2 separate regions of the Homo sapiens genome follow, and region 2 is linked to region 1. Evidence: promoter capture Hi-C in 16 types of primary human blood cells and fetal thymus (Javierre and others, 2016). All regions are on one chromosome and are shown on one strand. Each heading gives the region's core, a stretch centred on a gene start or on the middle of the fragment in contact. The rest is flanking DNA. Distances are from core to core; before and after follow the strand shown.

Region 1 (4,900 bases), core at 862-3,361:
TCTGGGTGACAGAGTGAGACTCCGTCTCAAAAAAATAATAAGTAAATAAACATTAAAAAATAAAAAGAAATAGACAGAAATAACACTCTAAAACAGTAATGGAGGCGAGACGCAGTAGCTCATGCCTGTAATCCCAGCACTTTGGGAGGACGAGGCAGGGAATCCCCTGAGGCCAGGAGTTTGAGACCAGCCTGGCCAACATGGTGAAACCCTGTCTCTACAAAAAATACAAAAATTAGCTGGGCGTGATGGCACATGCCTGTGATTCCAGCTACTCAGGAGGATGCAGCACCAGAATTGCTTGAACCTGGGAGGTGGAGGTTGCAGTGAGCTGAGATGGCACCACTGCACTCTAGCCTGGGTGACAGAGTGAGACTCTGTCTCAAAAAATATATATAATAGGTTAAAAAATAAAACAGTAATGGGAATACTAACACCACCTCCAATTCAGATCATTCCTGTCTTGAAAGAGCTTTCAAATCAGCAGTGTGAGCAGGTGGGAATACCACTGGACTGAGATTCCGATCCTGACTCGATGGCTAAGGACTTGTGGACTCTCTGAGCCTCAGGTATCTCTTTTATCAATACCAGGGGGCCCTCCGAGGTCCCCTTCGGGTTTAAGGTTGTGCAGACCCAGATCGCCACTCTCTGTGTCTAAATGAGCCAGGGGAGGGCCCACCTTCTCACCCTGTTCTCCACAATGGCTTGGCTGTGCTTTCCAAAGAGGAGTGCTAGAGAGGCCTGGATGAATGATTTCAGGCCCATGGTGGGCAAGTACTCATAATTCAGGGAGGGATCCTGTGAAATCTGTAGTCGAGTCTTCTGCACCACGAGAGAAACCCAGGGATGGCCTTCATTTGTCATGCAGACTGTGAGGAAAACCACAGAGGGAGCTCCAGATGCCTGGTTTGGGCCCCCAGGGCTGAGCTCTGCAGACAGCCTGCAAACAAATCTCTCCTGGACTCCATGGGGCTGTGGGAAGGTGCCTGTGAAAATACAACTTTCCCTTTTCTTTTCTCCTTGATGAAAAGAATATGCTGTTAGTGAATGTGTATTATTTTTGTCTTTTTAAAAAAGACAACTGAAACCTATGCCATTTTAAAGGTTAAAAATTATACAAGCCCAGGATTGGTGGCTCAGGCCTGTAATCCCAGCACTTCGGGAGGCTAAGGTGGGTGGATCACTTGAGTTCAGGAGTTCAAGATCAGCCTGGGCAACATGATGAAACCCTGTCTCTACAAAAAAATACAAAACAGCCAGACATGGTGACCAGCGCCTGTAGTCCCAGCTACTCAGGAGGCTGAGGCAAGAGGATGGTTTGAGCCCAGGAGGCAAAGGTGGCAGTGAGCTGAGATCTTGCCACTGCACTTCAGCCTGGGCAACAGAGTGAGGCCCTGTCTCAAGAAAAAAAAAAAAAAAATATATATATATATATATATATATATATATATATATATATATGCAAAATGAGAGTTATAGGTAGATGAAGCTAAATAAAGGTAACCCTGACTTTCACAGTGGTGAGCCCCAGTTGCATAGCAGAAAGCTCAATCTGGAGAACCATTCTTGGTTCAAGAACAGGAAGAGAAAGAGAAAGAGAGAGAGAGGAGGTAAGAATCTGAAGAAGTGTGGGATGGCCATGCAGGCCCCCAAGCATAGAGTTGTGGAAGAGGACATAGCTCTCACCAAATCCCTAGAAGCCCCCAGAGAAGGGCAGAGAGCATGGAATGACCTGGGACCTTATCTGCACTTTTCCCCACTGGGTAATTCTGTTAACAAGAAAAGATCTCTCCACCCACAGAAGCTTGGGCTGCACCCCTCCCCCTGCAGCAGGGAACACTGTCCTCCTAGAGGCAGTTACCATCACTTAAGTCTTATACTTCAGAACTGCTAGGCATCTACCTCTATAGGCTAAGAATATCTTGTTCGGGTAATCATCTTGTTTGTAGGTCTTTAACAAGCTGCCCTCTAGCTTGTGGGCGAGGGGCACATCCATGAACACTGAAAGGGTGGGCATAACTGAAACGAAACTGGAGCCAAGACTATGTGTCTCTGCTCCTGTGTTCCGCTTCTGCCCAGAAGTCTTCCTCCAAGGCTGGGCCGGGCAGTCCTGCCTCTTCCTGGAACCTTGGCAGCCCCAGTGCAGAGGCGCTGGACAACGGGTTGCCAGGGCAACAGAACCTCATGATCTTTGTGGTGGCGATCCACAGGGGCCACAGGAACATTCCAGGGTACTTGAGGAGAATCCCCTCAGACAGCGGGCAGGGCAGGATAACAATCTCCGGAATTCCCAAGCCCGTTTCCCTCACTCAATGCCTTCTCTTCTCTAGCCCCAGGTGGCTCAGTCCAAAGTAACAAGCCCACTCCTTAGATGACAGGGCAAGGATAATGGGAGATTACTTAACAGATACAATGTACATTGTTGGGGTTATGGATACCCTAAAAGCCCTGACTTCACCACTATGCGATGTATGCATCTAACAAAATTACACTTGTACTTCACACATTTATACAAATTAAAAAAAAAAAAAAGAAAGAAAGACATAGGGCAAGGCAGGCAGCCAATAAGCCAGATAGGGCTTCTCCTGCAGAAGCAAAAACCCCAGATCACACACCAATGCAAGTCGAGGCATTGATTTCCATTTTGCAAAGTGCCCCAGATTTCAAAAGGAATAAAAAGCAAACACTGTTTTCTTCCACAGTTGTTTTAATAAAGAATCCTATTATTAGAATATAATTGGCAACTCACTAAGCCAGTCCTATTTCTCTCAGTTATCTAGAGCCAAGACTTCTACATATGTTTGTTAAGTTTCTTTTTCTTTCTTTTTTTGGTTTTTTTTTTTTTTGAGATGGAGTCTCACTTTGTCGATAGTCTCGAACTCCTTGCCTCAGGTGATCTGCCTGCCTTGGCCTCCCAAACTGCTGGGATTACAGGCATGAGCCACCACACCTGGCCATTTGTTAAGTTTCAATGACAGCCAACTAGTAAGTATAGACAGCAGAGGCCAAGGGGAGAAAAGAGCCAGCCTCTATAGAGTCAGTCTGCATATTGCTTGCTTTCTTTTCCTTTTGATGTTTAATGACTCTCTCTTTTTTTTTTTTTTTTTTTTTGAGACAGAGTCTCGCTCTTGCTGCCCACATTGGAGTGCAGTGGTGTGATCTCGGCTCACTGCAACCTCTGCTTCCCAGGTTCAAGAGATTCTCCTGCCTCAGCCTCCCGAGTAGCTGGGATTACAGGCATGCGCCACCACACCCAACTAATTTTGTATTTTTAGTAGAGAGGGGGATTTCTCCATGTTGATCAGGCTGGTCTCAAACTCCAGACCTCAGGTGATCTGCCCACCTGGGCCTCCCAAAGTGCTGGGATTACAGGCGTGAGTCACTGCGCCCGGCTTTTTTTTGTATTTTTAGTAGAGACAGGGTTTCACCACGTTGGCCAGACTGGTCTCAAACTCCTGACCTCAAGTGATCTGCCTACCTCAGCCTCCCAAAGTGTTAGGATTACAGGCATGAGCCACCACACCCAGCCTGATGTTAAATAACTCTTTAAATGATTGTTGCAAACACTGTTGATGTCTCACCCAGAAGGCCTTCACCACCAATGTGCCCGGCCCCAGCTGCTGCTTCGCTGGTGGACAAGGCTTATATGCCTGTGTTCTCTGGAGAATTGTGCTTGGCTGGCAGGAGTCAGCTAGCCTAGAAACCACCTGGAGGTTTCACCCCCACTGACAGGGGTAGCCAATGACTGCCTGATTTAGGCATACAAAGGGTCAGCCACAGCCAGGCATGGTGGCTCACACCTGCAATCCTAGTGCTTTGGGAGACTGAGGCGGGAGGATCACTTGAGCCCAGGAGCTCAAGACCAGCCTGAGCAACATAGGGAGACCCCCCCCACCCACTCCACAAAAAATTTTAAAATTAGCTGGGCGTGGTGGTATTGCAGTGAGCTATGATCATGGCACTGCACTCCAGCCTGGTTGACAGAGTGAGATCCTGTCTTTAAAAAAAAAAAAAGGTCGGGCACGGTGGCTCACACCTGTAATCCCAGCACTTTGGAAGGCCAAGACAGGCAGATCACAAGGACAGGAGATTGAGACCATACTGGCTAATGGGGTGAAACCCCGTCTCTACTAAAAATACAAAAAAAAAATTAGCCTGGCTTGGTGGTGGGCGCATGTAGGGAGGAGGCTGAGACAGGAGAATTGCTTGAACACGGGAGGCAGAGGGCACAGTGAGCCGAGATCTCTCCACTGCACTCTAGCCTGGGTGACAGAGCGAGACTGTCTCAAAAAAAAAAAAAAAGGAAAAGAAAAAGAAAAAAGGCCAGCCCCCTTGTCTCGGTTCACCTCTGTGGCTCAATCTACACTTCAGGGCCCATTCCCCAACCAGGCGAAGCCTAGACTTGACCTGAGGCCACATCCTTGCTTGGTTCCTTCCCCTTCACAATCCTGCTTCCTTCACTCCCTTCCAGGTTCTTCCTGAAGGGCACTCCTTCCCTAAGTCACATGCCCAGGAACTCCTGTCTCAGGCTATGCTCCCAGGGAACCTGTTTTGAGGCAAATGATTATGAAAGTAGTCCGTATTATTGTAGAAAACTCAAAAGCATCAAAAAATTATAATGAAGCACACAAATTCCCTACAACCAATCCATAACTTCAGTCCGGGTGCACCTCCATCCAGTTTCTATTCTTTGACATTTATATTTTAAGGTAATTGCTATCAACATTTATGTGTCATTTTCATCATACTTTCTTCACTTAACATTTCAGCTGTGAGGATTTTATTGTGTGCCAGTGAGAACCTTTTATGCTGCAGGTAATTTAAAAAAGACCTAGTCCAAACCAGCTTGAGCAACAGAGAGAAAGTATTGGCACCTAACTGGGAGGGCCAGGGTACATCT
Region 2 (4,900 bases), core at 1,737-4,236, 1.1 Mb before region 1:
TCCAAGCTGGTTGACAGAGCAAGACTTCTCTCAAAAAATAAATAAATAAATAAGTAGGCATTTATATCTAAAAATTTCCCTCTAAGCACCTTTAGAAGCATGGTGTATTTTTAATGTGTTATGTTTTTATTTTCATTAATTTAAAATACTTTATAATTTCCCTGTGTTTTCTGTTTTCTTTTTTGTATGTTTTTGACCCATTGTTAAGAAATGTGTTGTTTTTACTTTCACATATTTGTGAATTTTCCTAATTTTCTCTTTTATTGTATTCTTATTTAATTCCATTGAAGTTGGAAAGCATACTTTGTATGACAAATTCTTATAGTATTTTAAGACTTGCTCCATTGTCTAATACATGGTCTATCCTGGAGACTATTCAATGTATACTTGGGAAGATCATGTATTATTCTGTTGTTAGATGGAATGTTATATGGATGTCTGTTAAGTATAGTTGGTTTATAGGGTCGGTTAAGTATAGGTTGGTGTGTGTGTGTGTGATTTTTATTTCTTCCTGTGGATTTGAATTACTGCCTAATGTGCTTGTATTTCAAACTCAAGGAATCCCGTTAGTATTTATTGTAGGGTTTGTCATATGTGAACAAGATCTAAGTTCTTGTTAATCTTAAAAATGTCTTAATTTATCATTTATTTTTGGAGGATAGTTTTGCTAACTATTAAATTCTTTGTTGGCAGTTGTTTCTCATTCAGCGCTTTAAATATTTCATCCTACTTCTTTCTGGCCTCTATTGTTTCAGATTAGAAATAGCTTTCAATTTGATTGGTCATCCTTTCTACACGATGAGTCACTTCTGTCTTGCTGACTTGAAGACCCTCTGTCTTTGAGTCTTACATTTTTGATTATGACAGGTCTCCATGTGTCAATCTCTTTAAATTTATCCTACTAGGAGTTTATTAAGCTTTTTAGTTGTGTAGATTAATGTTTTTCAACCACTTTGAGAAGTTATTGGCCATTATTTCTCAAATATTCACTCTACTCCTTTCTTTACTCTTCTCCTGGATCTTTCATTAAATCCTTTGGTACACTTGATAATGTCCCAGCGGTCCCTTAGGCTGTCTTCATTTTTCTTAATTCCTTTTTTCTTCTGTCCCTCAAACTGTATAATCTTCATTCACCTATCTTTGAGTATGCTGATTCTTTTTTTTTTTTTTGCATGCTCAAGTCTGATCTTTAGTTCCTCTTGTAAAGTTTTTATTTTAGTTCTTGTACTTTGAACTCCAAGATTTCTACTTAAAAAAATTTGTAACTATTTAATGACATTCTCTATTTTGTGAGACATCATTCTCATATTCCTTTTGGTTATTTATATATAGGTTTTTAAAGCTCTTCAAATATATTTAAATTAGCTGATTTTAAAAGTCTTTGACTAGTAAGTACAATATCTGAGCTTCTCTCAAGGATGGTGTCTATTGAGAGCCTTTTTCCTATGTATTTTTATCTTGCTTGTTTCTTTCCAAGTCTTATAACTTTTTGTTGAAAATTAGACATTACACAGGTTATAGTGTGTTATTTATGGAAATCAGATTCTCCAGTAGACTTTCCCAAAGTCTATCTCTCTGTCATTTGTGGCCATTGAATTTTCTACTCAACTTAGTGGTAAGCTTATAATTGGACAATGATTTTTGTTAAACACCTGGAACCAAGAAGTTTCTCAGTCTTTGTCAAAGGATTCTGTGTTTGTGTTGGGGCATGCCTTCAATAGTCAGCTGTAAAGTTGACAACTGTGTTTAGCCTTCATTTTCTGCTTGTATGAAACCTCAAGGTCAGTTAGAGATGAGAGCTTTGGAACTTCTCAGGCCTTTCTGCTTATGCATACAGCTTTACACAGTTCTGGGCATCTTCATTGTCATTTAGATTTCCAGTAATATTCCAGAGTTTTTCAAAGTCCCTTATAAGTAAGAAGACATTTTATTCTTCAGTTTTCCTTTTATGCTTTCATTTGGTCTTCAATTTGCCCTGCTATCTGTTGCCTCAGGCACATGTGACGTTAATATATTTGATAACACTCCCTGGGGATAGGCTTGTAGCACTAGATACATGCAAATGAGGCTGAAAAAGAAAAGCCATTCAAGTAGGGTTATGCAGGGAACCACCAGACAAGTCAAAATAATGACTCTTCTTTGGAAATAAGGCTTTTGAAGAACTGTATTTCTGCTGTACTCCCTCTAGTGCCAAGAATATGGAGTATTATGTTTTGAAAGCTATCGATGAGCTGTGGAGCTGGAGATGAAACTAGTGTAAATTAAAATAACACAAATCTTATATCTCTTACTGCTATCTATTTATTTCTCTCGACTAAATGTTTTCAAGGCTCCTGTTGGTTAGTTTCCAGAGTTCTGAAAAAAAAATAATTCTCACAAGTTTTGCCAGTTTATTCTATTTTTATGGAGGGGCGGCCTATCTCGTGTCCTTCCTCTACCTTTTATTTTATTTTTTTTCTGGTATCTTGTCTTCATTTTTTAAAGATAGTTTTCCTGGGTATAAAATTCTTGGTTGGCAGTTTATTTCAGCACTTTTCAATGACATCTTATTGCCTTCTAACCTCCATTTTTTCTGATAAGAAGTCAGCTGTTTCACATGTAAACCACATTTTTCTCGTGCTGGTTTCAAGATTTTTTGTGATGTAGGGCACAATTTAGTCCACAACAGTCACATTTTGAGGTTCTGGGTAGACACATATTAATATTTGGGGAGACAGTCTCCAATTTATTAACCCCTCTAGTGAATAATTAACATCAGTTAATGTACTTTTCAACTATAAAGCTTCTATTTTGTTCTTCTTAAAATTTGTATTTGTTTATGGATAATGTTTCTTTAGGGAGATATTGTCATCATGCTTTTATTTCTTTAATCAGGATTTCCTTCATTTCTTTCAACATATTTAGAATATTGGCTCTTAATATTTTTTCTGCTAACTCTGACATGGACTCTTGCACAGAAAGTTTCTTTTGCCTGCTTTCCCCACCCTGTGTATAGCTCATGCTTTCCTGTTAATTTTCATGTCTCATGCTTTCCTGTTACTTTGCATGTCTCATATTTTGTGTTGAAAATGGATATTGTAGATAATTATAGCAGCTCTGAAAACCAAGGCTTGTTGTTGTCACTGGTTGTTTAGTTAGTTGGCTAGTGACTTGGCTGAACTGTTTTATAAAATAAATTTCCCCTAAGTTTGAAGCTTTTGATGTTGCTCATTGGAGAGTGCAGCCTTGGACTACAGTGGTTAACAACCATTGGGCTTATAGTGGTTTTAGCAGGGCTCATTTTAATGGTCTCTTTCCCTGATCTCTATGGTAAGCTCTCCGCTTCTGTTAGTATCACACCCAGTTCCTAGACTACACTAGCAGGCTGCCTATTATTGTTTTTTATTATGCCTGAGTTATCTATTGCTCCACAGTATTACGCAATTAAATTTGGGCCCCTTTGTAAGAGTGGTTTCTAAGACCAGTCTTTGCAGTTTGTTCTGTCCCTAAGAGAACGGTTATTAACTGTACTTTTTCTGGTTCACTATGGTAAATTCTGACTTATGGTTTATCTTGTTCTCATGGAGTTACTAGCCTCTAATTAATTGTTTACCACCAAAATCACTGTTGTCAAAAAGCACCCTTGGGCTTGAAATTCTTGATACTCTGTTCCAAGTAAAATCAATTCCTTTGGGCGGAGCTTCAGAGCTCTTTGTTCTTATGGCCTGCCTCTCCTCCTGGGCAAAATCTCTGAGCCATTGCTCCCGAGCTTGCAGGATGGTGGGTGGTGTTGGAAAAGAAGACCTCCTCTGTTGAAGTGACACACCTGTTTTATGAGTAGGACACTAGCACTGGTGGTAGCCTCTGGCTTTCTTTGTTTGCTTCTCCCACTGTGAAACCTCTGCCTTGGGGGTGAGCTGGAGTCAGGGAGATTAATGCTTCATTGTTTTCATCCTGTGATACCTAAACAGAGCCTCACCTATAAATGAGAGCTGTGAAGAGTAAGACAGTCTCTATCCTCTAGGCTACACTCACCTGAAACTTAGTTTCTGCAACACAGAGTGGGAAGGGGATGAGAAATACTGAGGCTGTGTCCCTCACAGGGACATAGCACAGCATTTGACTGGGAGCTGGAGGGAGGGGGAGCCCTGCATTCTTGAGCACACCTGTCCAGAATGAAGCTTTTATCACACCCAACTGGGTTTGGAGGAAAGGAAGCAGTCTGTGGTTCAAGTGCCAAAGATTCTTTCTGCCCTTACTAAGATTTAGTATATTTTATTGAATACAAGTTTTCTTTGTTTTGTTTTGTTTTTTGTTTGTTTGTTGTTTGTTTTTTGTTTTTTTGTTTTTGTTTTTGTTGTTGTTGTTGAGAAGGAGTCTTGCTCTGTTCCACAGGCTGGAGTGGAATGGCTTGATCTTGGCTCATTGCAAGCTCCACCTCCCGGGTTAAAGTGATTCTCCTGCCTCAGCCTCTTGAGTAGCTGGGATTACAGGCGCTTGCCACCACATGCAGCTAATTTTTGTATTTTTAGTACGGATGGGGTTTCACCAGGTTGGCCAGGCTGCTCTTGAACTCCTGACCTCAGGTGAGCTACCCGCCTCAGCCTCCCAAAGTGCTGGGATTACAGGCGTGAGCCACTGCACCCAGCCACAAGTTTTCTTCATTTGCTATATGTTCACAGAACAATTTCTAGAGATTTTCAATGTGTGTTTGTTTATGTTTTGATAATTTCACTAGTTAGGGCTGTTTCACTGAGGAGCCAGTTTATGAAGCTTCTGCTGCTGCTATTCCACACCCAAAACTAAAGGCTCTGTCTTAACATTATCTTCTGTGAATCTTTGTACTTCCCCTTGAAAGTCTAAGACAATTTCAAGGATGGCAAAAAAAAAAAAAAAAAAAAAAACTGTTCGTATGTAATTT

What was found. The method cuts DNA at HindIII sites, captures the fragments that hold promoters and counts their contacts. A CHiCAGO score of 5 or more calls a contact.
Region 2: a contact is called between a fragment that was not itself captured here and the fragment with the promoter of GOT1L1 in region 1, in 1 of 17 cell types (M0 macrophages). The highest score is 5.2, in M0 macrophages.

The regions. Positions count from the first base shown.
Region 1 is chr8:37,938,013-37,942,912 of GRCh38, forward strand. It overlaps GOT1L1 (glutamic-oxaloacetic transaminase 1 like 1), which reads right to left and starts at 2,112. Exons shown (of 9, transcript NM_152413.3): 1 at 1,903-2,112; 2 at 688-869. The coding sequence starts at 2,017. RefSeq lists an enhancer at 1,618-2,134. The HindIII fragment of the contact is 5,963 bases long and covers 1,803-4,900 here.
Region 2 is chr8:36,853,317-36,858,216 of GRCh38, forward strand. The region is part of intron 18 of KCNU1 (potassium calcium-activated channel subfamily U member 1); the gene reads left to right. Among named protein-coding and RNA genes, the nearest start is that of KCNU1, 71 kb to the left of the region's middle. The HindIII fragment of the contact is 412 bases long and covers 2,781-3,192 here.